Regions from separate parts of the Homo sapiens genome. Here all the other regions are linked to region 1. The links are contacts of gene promoters, found by promoter capture Hi-C in blood cells and fetal thymus (Javierre and others, 2016). All regions are on one chromosome and are shown on one strand. The core of a region is centred on a gene start or on the middle of the fragment in contact, and the rest is flanking DNA. Distances in the headings are between cores, read along the strand shown. Region 1 holds the start of CREBL2 (cAMP responsive element binding protein like 2). Region 2 overlaps DUSP16 (dual specificity phosphatase 16). Region 3 has its middle 4.3 kb from the start of GPR19.

Region 1 (3,468 bases), core at 600-3,099:
AGCATATTAAGCACTCTTATGAGCTGATAGCTTCCTGAAACTCGCCCCCCTTCTGTCTTGGAAATACCACTTCCTATTAAGAGGGGTTTACTACTTCACAAGCAATCCGTTCCTCTAGGTGAGTAACAATTCCAGAGTACTGCACTGGGCTTTCCCTTCCATCTGTCACTTCCTCACAGCCTTCTACATGAAGAGGAAGAGAAAACAAGAAGGAAAGAATAAAACAAGGAACACAGAGAAGTTGGAAATTTTTTGAATCTCTCTGAGGATATGTGAAACAAAAACTGCAGCAGCAGCAAAAAAAGACACCCAAACAAAGGACAAAGCTATCGTAAAGAGTATGCCAAAGACTGTGAAACAGAAGACGCTGAGAAGCACAAAGAAGGACGGTTTTTACTTTAAAAACTGGCAAATTTTAGAAGTCTGATTCCTTAAAATAAAAAAGTCCAAATCCAAAACAACCTGAAACATCAATAAACAAATCTTTGACCATCCCTATCTTCAGGAAATAAAACTAAACAACACTAATGTGGGTAGATGTAAAGAGAGAAAGGCGGCCAGGCGCGGTGGCTCACGCCTGTAATCCCAGCACTTTGGGAGGCCGAGGCGAGCGGACACCTAAGATTGGGAGTTCGAGACCAGCCTGACCAACATGGAGAAACCCCATCTCTACCAAAAATACAAAATTAGCCGGGCATGGTGGTGCATGCCTGTAATCCCAGCTGCTCGGGAGGCTGAGGCAGGAGAATCGCTTGAACCCGGGAGGCGGAGGTTGTGGTGAGCCGAGATCGCGCCATTGCACTCCAGCCTGGGCGACAAGAGCGAAACTCCGTCTCAATTAATAAATAAAGACAAAAAGGCTATACATAGATAAACTATTTGGATTAACCAATAATGAACATTATCTATTATTTTATAATCATAAAGTAAGTGATTTGGACAGGGAAATTGGATGGTGATGGGCTATTAAAGTTAACAAGAGGAAAATCAGTATTTTTTTAGAGAAGGCTTTCTAGTGGAGGTTAAACTCCACACTGGCCAAATAGCAACAGGAGCTTAGCGGTGTTCCAACCAACCACAGGAAATAGCTCAGAGGGGGAGTGAACTGATTATATGAATGGGGCATTGAGTAAGGGAGCCTGAGAGAAGGGGAATCGTCAAGGGGAATAAGGCTGGTTCAGCGTGCACTAAAGTCTCCAAACTGGAGAGAGGAGGCAGCAAAAAAGTGCAAGAAGAAAAAGTACAGTAGTTTCTTATCTCGACAGGCAAGTTAAGGACTAGGGGTTGCACTACCTGGAAAGCTAGCAAACGCCCTGGGAGTGAAAAATTTCCAGAGAGGGCCCTTCCTGGAAAAACGCAGCCCCGGTGTTCCCTGATTTCCTGGCTGGGTACCATCGGGCAGTGGACTGGAGAGGCGCAGGGATGTTTTAGGCAGGTGTCTCTTGGGTGTTGGCGTGGACTACATAGCGGAGGTTCAGCCGCGGGACTAGCATTGAGCGACAAGAAGGCGGCGGCGCGTGCAAACCACAAGACTTACCTTACTGTCATCCATCGCGGCAGACAGGCCGGCCTGGCCAGGCACTCCCTCCCGGAGCCCTCCCCCGGCTCAGCCGGCCTGGCCCGGCCCCCGCCCCGAGGAAGAAGGGGATATGGTTCTGGCTGCCTCCTCCTCTCGCCTAACAGTTCGCTTCCCTGATGCCAGAGTCACGGGGACGAGGGACCAGTTCAGGAATGGCAGAGCGGACCCTGGAGGCGGCCCCAAACGCCTCCCTTCGCCGCCGCCGCCTCCTCCTCCCCCTCCATGACAGTCTCTGGGTGTTTACAGACGCTCTGGAGAGCCGCCGAGACCGGAGGGTGGGCGGGAGCGCTGCACACGGAATGGCCCCTTCGGCTGCCGTAGCACCGCGGCATTCTGGGAATTGTGATTTTTCTTATCACAGTCTCTGCGCTACTGACTGGAAAAAAAACTACGATGTCCACATAGCCTCATTAAGGGGCAGCTGTTTTCCTTTTGCCTACTAGCTAGCGCTGAGGAGGCGGGGCTGGGCTGGAGGCCCAAAGTGCGCCTGACCTGAGGTTTTGGCTCCTAAGTGCCAGGGCCTGGAATGGCGGGGACGGGAGTTTGGTGCTCTGCGGAGGCAGCCCTGAAGGCGGGGTGCCGGAAGCAGGCCCTCCTCTGGGACGCTGAGGAAACCCTAAAGGTTCTTTATTTAAAAAAAAACGAAAAACAAAAACTAAGTATGTAAAATAGTGCAGCTACTTTGGGAAGAAATTTGGCAGTTCTTCAGAATATTGGCCACTCCCATACCCAAGAGAAATTAAAACGAGTGACTACACAAAAACTTGTATATAAATGTTCTTTCCTAGCAGCATTATTCATAATAGTCAAAAAGTGGAAACAACGCAAATGTCCTTTACTGGATGAATGGATAAACCAGTGTGGACTATACAAATTAAGAAATACTGGCCAGGGGTGGTGGGTCACGCCTGTAATCCCAGCACGTTGGGAGGCCGAGGCGGGAGGATTGCTTTAGCCCAAGAGTTCGAGACCAGCCTGGGCAACATAGCAAAACCTGTCTCTACAAAAAAATACAAAAATTAGTCGAGTGTGGTGGCACATGCCTGTAATCCCAGTTACTGGGGAGGCTGACATGAGAGGATCACTTGGGCCTGGGAGGCAGAGGCTGCAATAAGCCAAGATTGTACCACTGCACTCCAGCCTGGGCGACAGAGCCAGACACTGTATTTAAAAAAAAAAAAAAGAAGAAGAAGAATGAAAGAAGGAAGAAGAACGATGAAGGAAGAAGAAGGAGAAGAAGGAAGAAGAAAGAAGAAGGAAGAAGACCCATATAGTAAGATGCAGTCTCTACAAAAAAAATTAAAAATTAGTTGGGTGTGTTACAAAAAATTTAAAAATTACTTGGGTGTGGTGGTGGTGCTTGTAGTCCTAGCCACTCGGGAGGCCCAGGTGGGAGGATCGTTTGAGCCCTGGAGTTGGAGGCTGAAGTGAGCTGTGATCACGGCACTCCAGCCTGGGCAACAGAGCAAGACTCTGTCTCAAAAAAAAAGGAAAGAAATATTATTCAGCAATGAAAAAAAATGAAGGGATATACACACTTCAATATGTCTGAACCTTGAAAACTTTATGTGAAGTGAAAAAAGCCAGACACAATAGGCCACATATTGTATGATTCCATTTATAATGAAGTGTCTGGAACAGGCACATCTAAATAGACCAAAAAATCCATTAGTGGTTGCCAAGGGCTAGGGTTGAAGAATGGCAGGGATGGAGGGATCCTGGAAAGGAGAGTGACGGTTAATGAGTACTGGGTTTCTTTTTGAGGTGATGAAAATGATCTAAAATTCAGCCGGGCATGGTGGCTCACGCCTGTAATCCCAGCACTTTGGGAGGCCGAGGTGGGCTGATCACCTGAGGTCAGGAGTTCGAGACCAGCCTGACCAACATGG
Region 2 (3,468 bases), core at 465-2,964, 120 kb after region 1:
ATACATCATGGGCTTTTTTTTTTTTTTTTTTTTGTAATGGCTTTACTGAGATATAATTCATATACCATACAATTTACAAGCAATTTTTACAACAAGATAAAATAAGAGAACTAACATTTCAGGGGACCCTATATTATGTGTCAGGCACTTTATTATCCTCATACTGGCTTTACAAAATACACATCATTAGCCTTATTTTACAGGTGAGGAAATTAAAGCTACCGGAGGTTAGGTAACCTTCCCAAGATCACCCAGGCGATGAGTGGTAATGCGCTGGGCTGTGCTCTGGTTTTTCTGGGGCCGTTACCCATGTACTTTACTTTATTCCGTGCCACACTGAGATTCCACACTAACCACTAATGAATTGTTTCCAAGAAGAGATCCTTTAGGAGTTTGCTTTAATAAATCGATCAGTCTTCTCAGTATGGCATTTGATAAAGTTCTGTAGCTTGGCAGTAAAACTCTTTAGCTTGATATTTAAGACCTTCCAGGACCTAATACCACCTTTTTAGTTCTTACCTCTCCTGTTCTCTTCCTCTGCTCATCCTCTTTCAATGTCTGGACACACTCACCTAGTGAGTGCACCCCAGATATTTCTGTCCTGTCCTTGGTCTTCATTCATTTTCTATACTCCATCTGGAATGCCTCTACCGCCATCTGAGCTTCAGCTGACAATTTTAGTTCCCATTATAAATAGTCTTCTCAGAATCCTTCCCTTTGGTTTTACTCCTGTTTTCCACTGCCATTTTGTTTATCCTGCTACATTATATTCATCGGATACCTCTTTGTATCATCATTATTCGTGCAACTGTCTTACAGTTGCTAGTAGACTATTCATCCCTCAGTGAGAACACTTGCTTTTTTATGCCCCAGAATACCTTGATGCATAGTAAGCCCTTGGTGATTATTTTTCAAAATAAATAGTTATATCCTAATTTGTAACCCATGCAACTTGTATGAAATGTACATGTCCTTAAACATTAAGTAAACACACCTTCTGTTAATTTACTCAGAAAACCTTCTGTTAATGAATTTGAGAATCTAAAATTTTCAACCCAGGAAAAACAGTCTTTTTTAAATTATGAAATGAATGTAAGTTAATGATATTTTACAGTGACTTGTAAAATGAAAATGTGCAAGGAACATATATGAAGGTTTCTCATTAGAAGATGCTAATAAACCAGTTACTAGATACTGATTTTAGTCAGCTTCAGGGATAAGGGTTCGTTCATGTATTCGCCCAACAAATGTTTATTGAGCCTCTACCATGTGCCAAACAGTGTTCTAGGTGCTGGGGGTACACCAGGAAATGAGACAATAATCTCTGCTTTCATTAGCTTACATCCTAGGAGAAAGAAACTTGATAGGAAGCATAATAAATAGGTAAATTACATAGTATAGTACAGTATGAGTGCTATGAAGAAAACAGGGTAAGAGGGCTGGGGATTACCTGTGAGGTGTGGGTTGTAATTAAATGGGTGATCAAAGTGGCCTAATTGAGATAGAGGCATTTGAACAAACACTCAAAGGAGGTCAAAGAGTAAGCCATTTGAATATCTGGAGGAAGAGCAGTACAGGCAGAAGAAGCCACCAAGGCAAAGCACATGTGGTATGCTAAAGGAAGAGCGAGGCCAGTGTGGCTGGAGCAGAGTGAGCATGGGAGAGTGTCGTCAGAGAGGTAACAGGAGCAGATCCAGACAATACAAGATTTCTGCATAGGACTTGGAAAGACGGGAGCTTTTACTCTGAGAAAAAGAGTTCAGAGGGAGTCATTGGAAGGTTCCAAGCAGAGGAGCAACATAATCTGACTTACATTGTTAGGATCACTTTAGCTTCTGTGTTGAAAATAGCCTGAATTTCCTACTGGATGGAAGCAGGAAGGCCGGTTAGGAGGCTCCATGGTAATGTGTTGAAGTCAAGGTGGCAGTAATGGTGAGATTTGGGCTCTATATTGAAGGTATAGCCAATAGGATTGGATGGTAGGGGTGTGTGAAAAAGAGAGGTGTCAAGGAGACTCGGAGATGCAGTTGCCATTAACTGAGATGGAGTCTGTAGGAAGGGCAGGAGTCAGTTCTGGACACGCTGAGTTCGAAATGCCTGTTATACTTCCAAGTGGAGATGTTGAGTAGACAGATGGATGTATGAATGGGGCAGGGGGATCCCTGAAGGAGGAGGTATAAAGGTGGGAGTCATTAACATACAGACAGTACTTGATGTCATAAGAGATGATCAGATAATTACTAAGAGGCAAAATATAGATGAGAAAAGGATTGAGCCGTGAGCACTCCCACCCTGAAAGTCTGGGGAGTTGAGAATGACCCAACAAAGAATATTGAGAAGTAAATATTGAGGAAGGAAGGAAATCAAGTAATCAGGGAGGCAAATAAACAACGTGTTTTCCAGGAGGAAGGAGCAGTCGAGTGTGCCAAGTAGTACTTTAGGTCAAGAAAGATGAAGACTGAGAATTGGTCATTGGATTTAGCAACATGACTATCGCTGGTGATCATTGAGCAGTTTTGGTAGAGTGTTGGGGGTGAAAGCCTGAATGGAGTGGGTTCAGGAGATAACAGGAGGAGTGGAGCTGGAGATATCAAGTAGAAGGGGTTCTTTCAAGGAATTTCAAAGATATGGGGTAATGGCTGGAGGGAGACGCGAAGCTGAGAGGAGATATTTTTAAGGTGGGAGAAATAATGGTTTGTTTGATTGCAGGTAGGAAGAATGATCCTGTACAGTGGAAAATTGATGTAGGAGAAAGGAGAATCACAAAGCTATGTTCTTGAGCAAGAGGGGATGGATTTATTTAGCAAGCGGAGGGATTGGCCTTACGAGTATGGACAGTTCGCCCAAAACAGCAGGTGGGAAGGCATTATATCTGGGCGCATTTGCTGAGAGATGGGTAAATGTGGTGATGGAAGTCTATCAAAATTTGCCTCTGACTGTTTCAGTTTTTCCATTGTAGTAGGAAGCAAGGTCATTCTTCAGCTGTGAGTGAAGATGAGTGGGGACATATAGGGAGTTTGAAGAAAAAGGGAAACAGAATGGCATATGGGAAAGAGAAAAAGTGAATGGACTGGGGAAATACAGAGATTGCTGAGGAGTATGAATTGAAAGTTAGATCAGGTAGCATTGTGGAGTGTTTTTCTCTGGCCATGTTCAGTGGCATGGGCAGTGCTGACTAGGTGGAGAATTAGACTTAACTAGGGTTGTAATCTTGCCAAGTGAGTACGAACAATTGATGAGGGCAGAGGAAGTTGGGGTAAAAGGAAAGGAGTGATTGTAATAACTGATTATAGAATTTACATTGGGCAAGGAAGGCAGACAGACATCATGGGGATGAAGGACAGAGAAAATTAGTAGATCATCAGACTGTAGGTCCTCCTGCAGGGGTTTACAGATTCTGGGTGTAGTGTAGTATAAGAGATCTTGAGTGAGCTGGAAAGTGGAAGGGTGCATGAAATCAAGATTATG
Region 3 (3,468 bases), core at 291-2,790, 89 kb before region 1:
GTATTCTATTATTTTAGGATACAGCACAATTAAATTCAACAAATATTTAGTTGTGCCTAATTTGTACAAACCATAAGGCTAGTCATCAGAGGAATTTTGAAAAGTGAATAAAATACAATCACTGTCTTCAGTGGGAGGAGCTTTATTCTACATATGCAAATTAAAAATATTATTCTACATATAAAAATCAGACAATAACATAAACATAAGGCCAAATATGTGTTCTATAAAAAGATGATGCAAGCAAAATGCTTATAGGAGAGATCAGGAAAAGATTTACTGAAGAGACAGCCTTTGTCCATTCTTTTTTTTTTTTTTTTTTTTTGAGACAGGGTCTCACTCTGTCACCAGGCTGGAGTGCAATGCCATGATTATGCCATGACCTCTTCAGGCTCAAGCAATTCTGCCACCTCAGGCTCCCAAGCAGCTAGGATGACAGGCACGCACCACCACACCCAGCTAAAGTTTTCATATTTTGTAGAGCCAGGATTTCGCCATGTTGCTCAGGCTGCTCTCAAACTCCTGGAGTCAAGCAAACCTCCTGCCTTGGCCTCCCACAGTGCTGGAATTACAGGCATGAGCCACCTGGCCTGGCCTTTGAAATGGTTCTTTAGAACTCAATGGATTTTAGCTGGGAGAAAGGGGTAATTGAGTAAATCAAATGGGGCGATTAACTAAATGTTAACTTGGTGAATAGAAAGGACACTGTCCAAAATATCCCATAATTGGGTACCAACTCTTTGAAATTATAGGATTAGGATTTTCTCTCCCTTTTGTCTACTGGCAGTCCTATCTCCCACAATAAAAGCTTTATATGCCAGATATAGTCATTATTAGCTAATGGGCAAGCAACAAATGGGGAGATAATGTTAATATAATTCAGAAATTACATTGCTTCATTCATTATTTTTCCCAGCACACTAACATTTTGGGGCAAGCAGGGACAAGCTTCTCACAATTAAAGAGAAAACCTTAGCAACATATAAAGATGTTAAGAAAAAAAGCAGAAAATTCTGCAAGAATGCCTTCCTTTGGTGCAAACAGAGGCTTGTTTGGTGGCTTCAAGAGTTTTTTACAACATTAAGTTCTGTGGTAAACTGCAAAGTGTAAATGAAGGTGCAAAACCATTTTACCCCATTGGGGGAAAACTGATTGATAAAAAAGACAAAATCCTCGATCGGATTTTTAATTTTGATGAAACTGCTCTTAATTGGAATTAATACCCTCAAGGGCATATACATCCAAGGAAGAATCATGTGCCCCAGGATTCAAGAAACTAAAGCAGCACTGTCCAACAGAAACATTCGACAATTTAGGTTTTCTGGGAGCCACATTTTTAAAAAGTAAAAGTAAAAAGAAATGTTGAAGTGACATTTCAACATGTAATCAATATAAAATTTATTGAGATTTTTACATTATTTTTTATACTAAATTCTTAAAATCTTATGTGTATATTTTATACTTAACAGCCCTTCTCAATTTGGACTATCACATCTAAGTGTTCAATAAACACAGATGGCTAGTTACTACTGTATTGGACAGCATGGCCCTAAAGGATGACTGTGATATTGAGTACAAGTGTCAGAGGGAATTTAATTGTGTATTTTTTATTAGCATAGTAATTTTTATAGCCCTCAACTAACAAAGTTGCAAAGGTTTTGAGTGACCTGCTTCTAACCCTATATTTCCCACAAGTCCTGTTATTTTTAGTGCACCATTAAAAAAACATGCTTGTTTTCTCTGTACATACTTCCCTAAGCCTCCCTTGAAGCTAAAGGTAGTCATATGACATAGTTCTGGGCAGTAAGAAATAAAGGGAAGTCTGCAACATCATATGGGAAACATTTTTTGCCCTTATGAGAGAGTCTAACAAAACAACAACAACAACAAATAGCCAGGTGTGGTGGTGCATGCCTGTGATTCCAGCTTCTTGGGAGGCTGAGGTGGAAGAATCACTTGGGCCCAAGAAGTCAAGGCTGCATTGAGCCATAATCATGCCATTGCACTCCAACCTGGGCAACAGAGTGAGACTCTGTCTCAAAAAAAATAAAAAATAAAAAATAAAGGGACAGAGAGAGAGAGAAAGAAAGAGAGAGAAAAAAGAAGAGAGAGGCCTCAAGGAGAAAGCTTTTGGCCAGGTGCAGTGGCTCATACCTGTAATCTCAGCACTTTGGAAAGCCGATGTGGGAGGATCGCTTGAGGCCAGGTGTTCAAGACCAGCAGGAGCAACATGAGGAGACCCCATCTTTACAAAAAAAAAAAAAAAGAAAGAAAGCTTTTTTTGGCTCATACTCTCTTTTCTATTTGAAACATTTCATATGAGAACATGATGTTTGGAACTGCGGCAGCTATCTTGTGACTATGATAATAGACTCTTTAATACATTGAAGATAACAGACCATAAAGGTATCTCTCCTTATCAGAGATGTAAATGGAATGAAGTCAGCCATGCAAACATGCCAGTAGATGGAGGCAAGGGCAGAGTTCCCTAGCAGGAAGTAGAGTGCATCTGCTTCCTGTCCTCAGTGGGCATTATTTGACCAGTCACAAACCAAATTTGCCCTTCTTTCTCCCTTTTCCCCTCTCGTGCTGAAGATTCTCTTCCCTCTGATTGAAACACTGTTTTAGTGATGGGATCTTGCTATATTGTCCAGGCTGGACTTGAACTCTTGGGCTCAAGGGATATTCCTGCCTCAGCCTCCTGGGTAGCTGGGACTATAGGCATGGGCCTGTGCCAGCAGAAACATCCTTTCTTTAGGTATGACAAGAGTACTGAATTACCCCCAATACTTAAGACCTGAGTGCAGAGCTAAAAGTAAGCAAAATTTATTTGGCTTATTAGGGATTCATACACAAACCCTGCAATTTGGCCCTAATATGTATGTTTTCAATTTTTTTTTCTTGAGACAGAGTCTTGCTCTGTTGCCCAGGCTGGAGTGCTGTGGCACGATCTCGGCTCACTGCAACCTCCACCTCCCAGGTTCAAGTGATTCTCCTGCCTCAGCCTCCCGAGTAGCTGGGATTACAGGTGTGCACCACCACGCCCGGCTAATTTTTTGTATTTTTAGTAGAGACAGGGTTTCACCATGTTGGCCAGGCTGGTCTCAAACTCCTGACCTCATGATCCACCCACTGCAACCTCCCAAAGTGCTGAGATTACAGGCGTGAGCCACTGTGCCTGGCCAAATTCATTCTTTCTTTTCCCTGGAGATTAAGCTAATTTCAATGCTCATACTGACTGTGATAAACCAAATTTTTCATCTTCCCTATTCCCTATCTCCCAAACTGTTCCCTATGTATTAGTTAGGAGTGACTGTAGAATGCTATATAAAATGGGCTGGGCACAGTGGCTCATGCCTGTAATCCCAGCACTTTGGGAGGCCAAAGCTGGCGGATCACGAGGTCAGGAATTTGAGACTAGCCTGGCCAACATGGTGAAACCCCGTCTGTACTAAAAATACAAAAAAT

Evidence for each region. The method cuts DNA at HindIII sites, captures the fragments that hold promoters and counts their contacts. A CHiCAGO score of 5 or more calls a contact.
Region 2: a contact is called between a fragment that was not itself captured here and the fragment with the promoter of CREBL2 in region 1, in 2 of 17 cell types (naive CD8 T cells and non-activated CD4 T cells). The highest score is 6.6, in naive CD8 T cells.
Region 3: a contact is called between a fragment that was not itself captured here and the fragment with the promoter of CREBL2 in region 1, in 1 of 17 cell types (total CD8 T cells). The highest score is 5.3, in total CD8 T cells.

What each region holds. Positions count from the first base shown.
Region 1 is chr12:12,610,257-12,613,724 of GRCh38, reverse strand. It overlaps CREBL2 (cAMP responsive element binding protein like 2), which reads right to left and starts at 1,849. Exons shown (of 4, transcript NM_001310.4): 1 at 1,538-1,849. The coding sequence starts at 1,552. RefSeq lists a silencer at 1,496-1,795 and enhancers at 1,956-2,005, 2,056-2,135, 1,729-2,480. The HindIII fragment of the contact is 19,687 bases long and covers 1-3,468 here.
Region 2 is chr12:12,491,802-12,495,269 of GRCh38, reverse strand. All of the region lies in intron 4 of DUSP16 (dual specificity phosphatase 16), which reads left to right. Among named protein-coding and RNA genes, the nearest start is that of DUSP16, 69 kb to the left of the region's middle. The HindIII fragment of the contact is 3,950 bases long and covers 1-3,468 here.
Region 3 is chr12:12,698,777-12,702,244 of GRCh38, reverse strand. It overlaps a transcript of GPR19 not described here. Among named protein-coding and RNA genes, the nearest start is that of GPR19, 4.3 kb to the right of the region's middle. The HindIII fragment of the contact is 1,179 bases long and covers 951-2,129 here.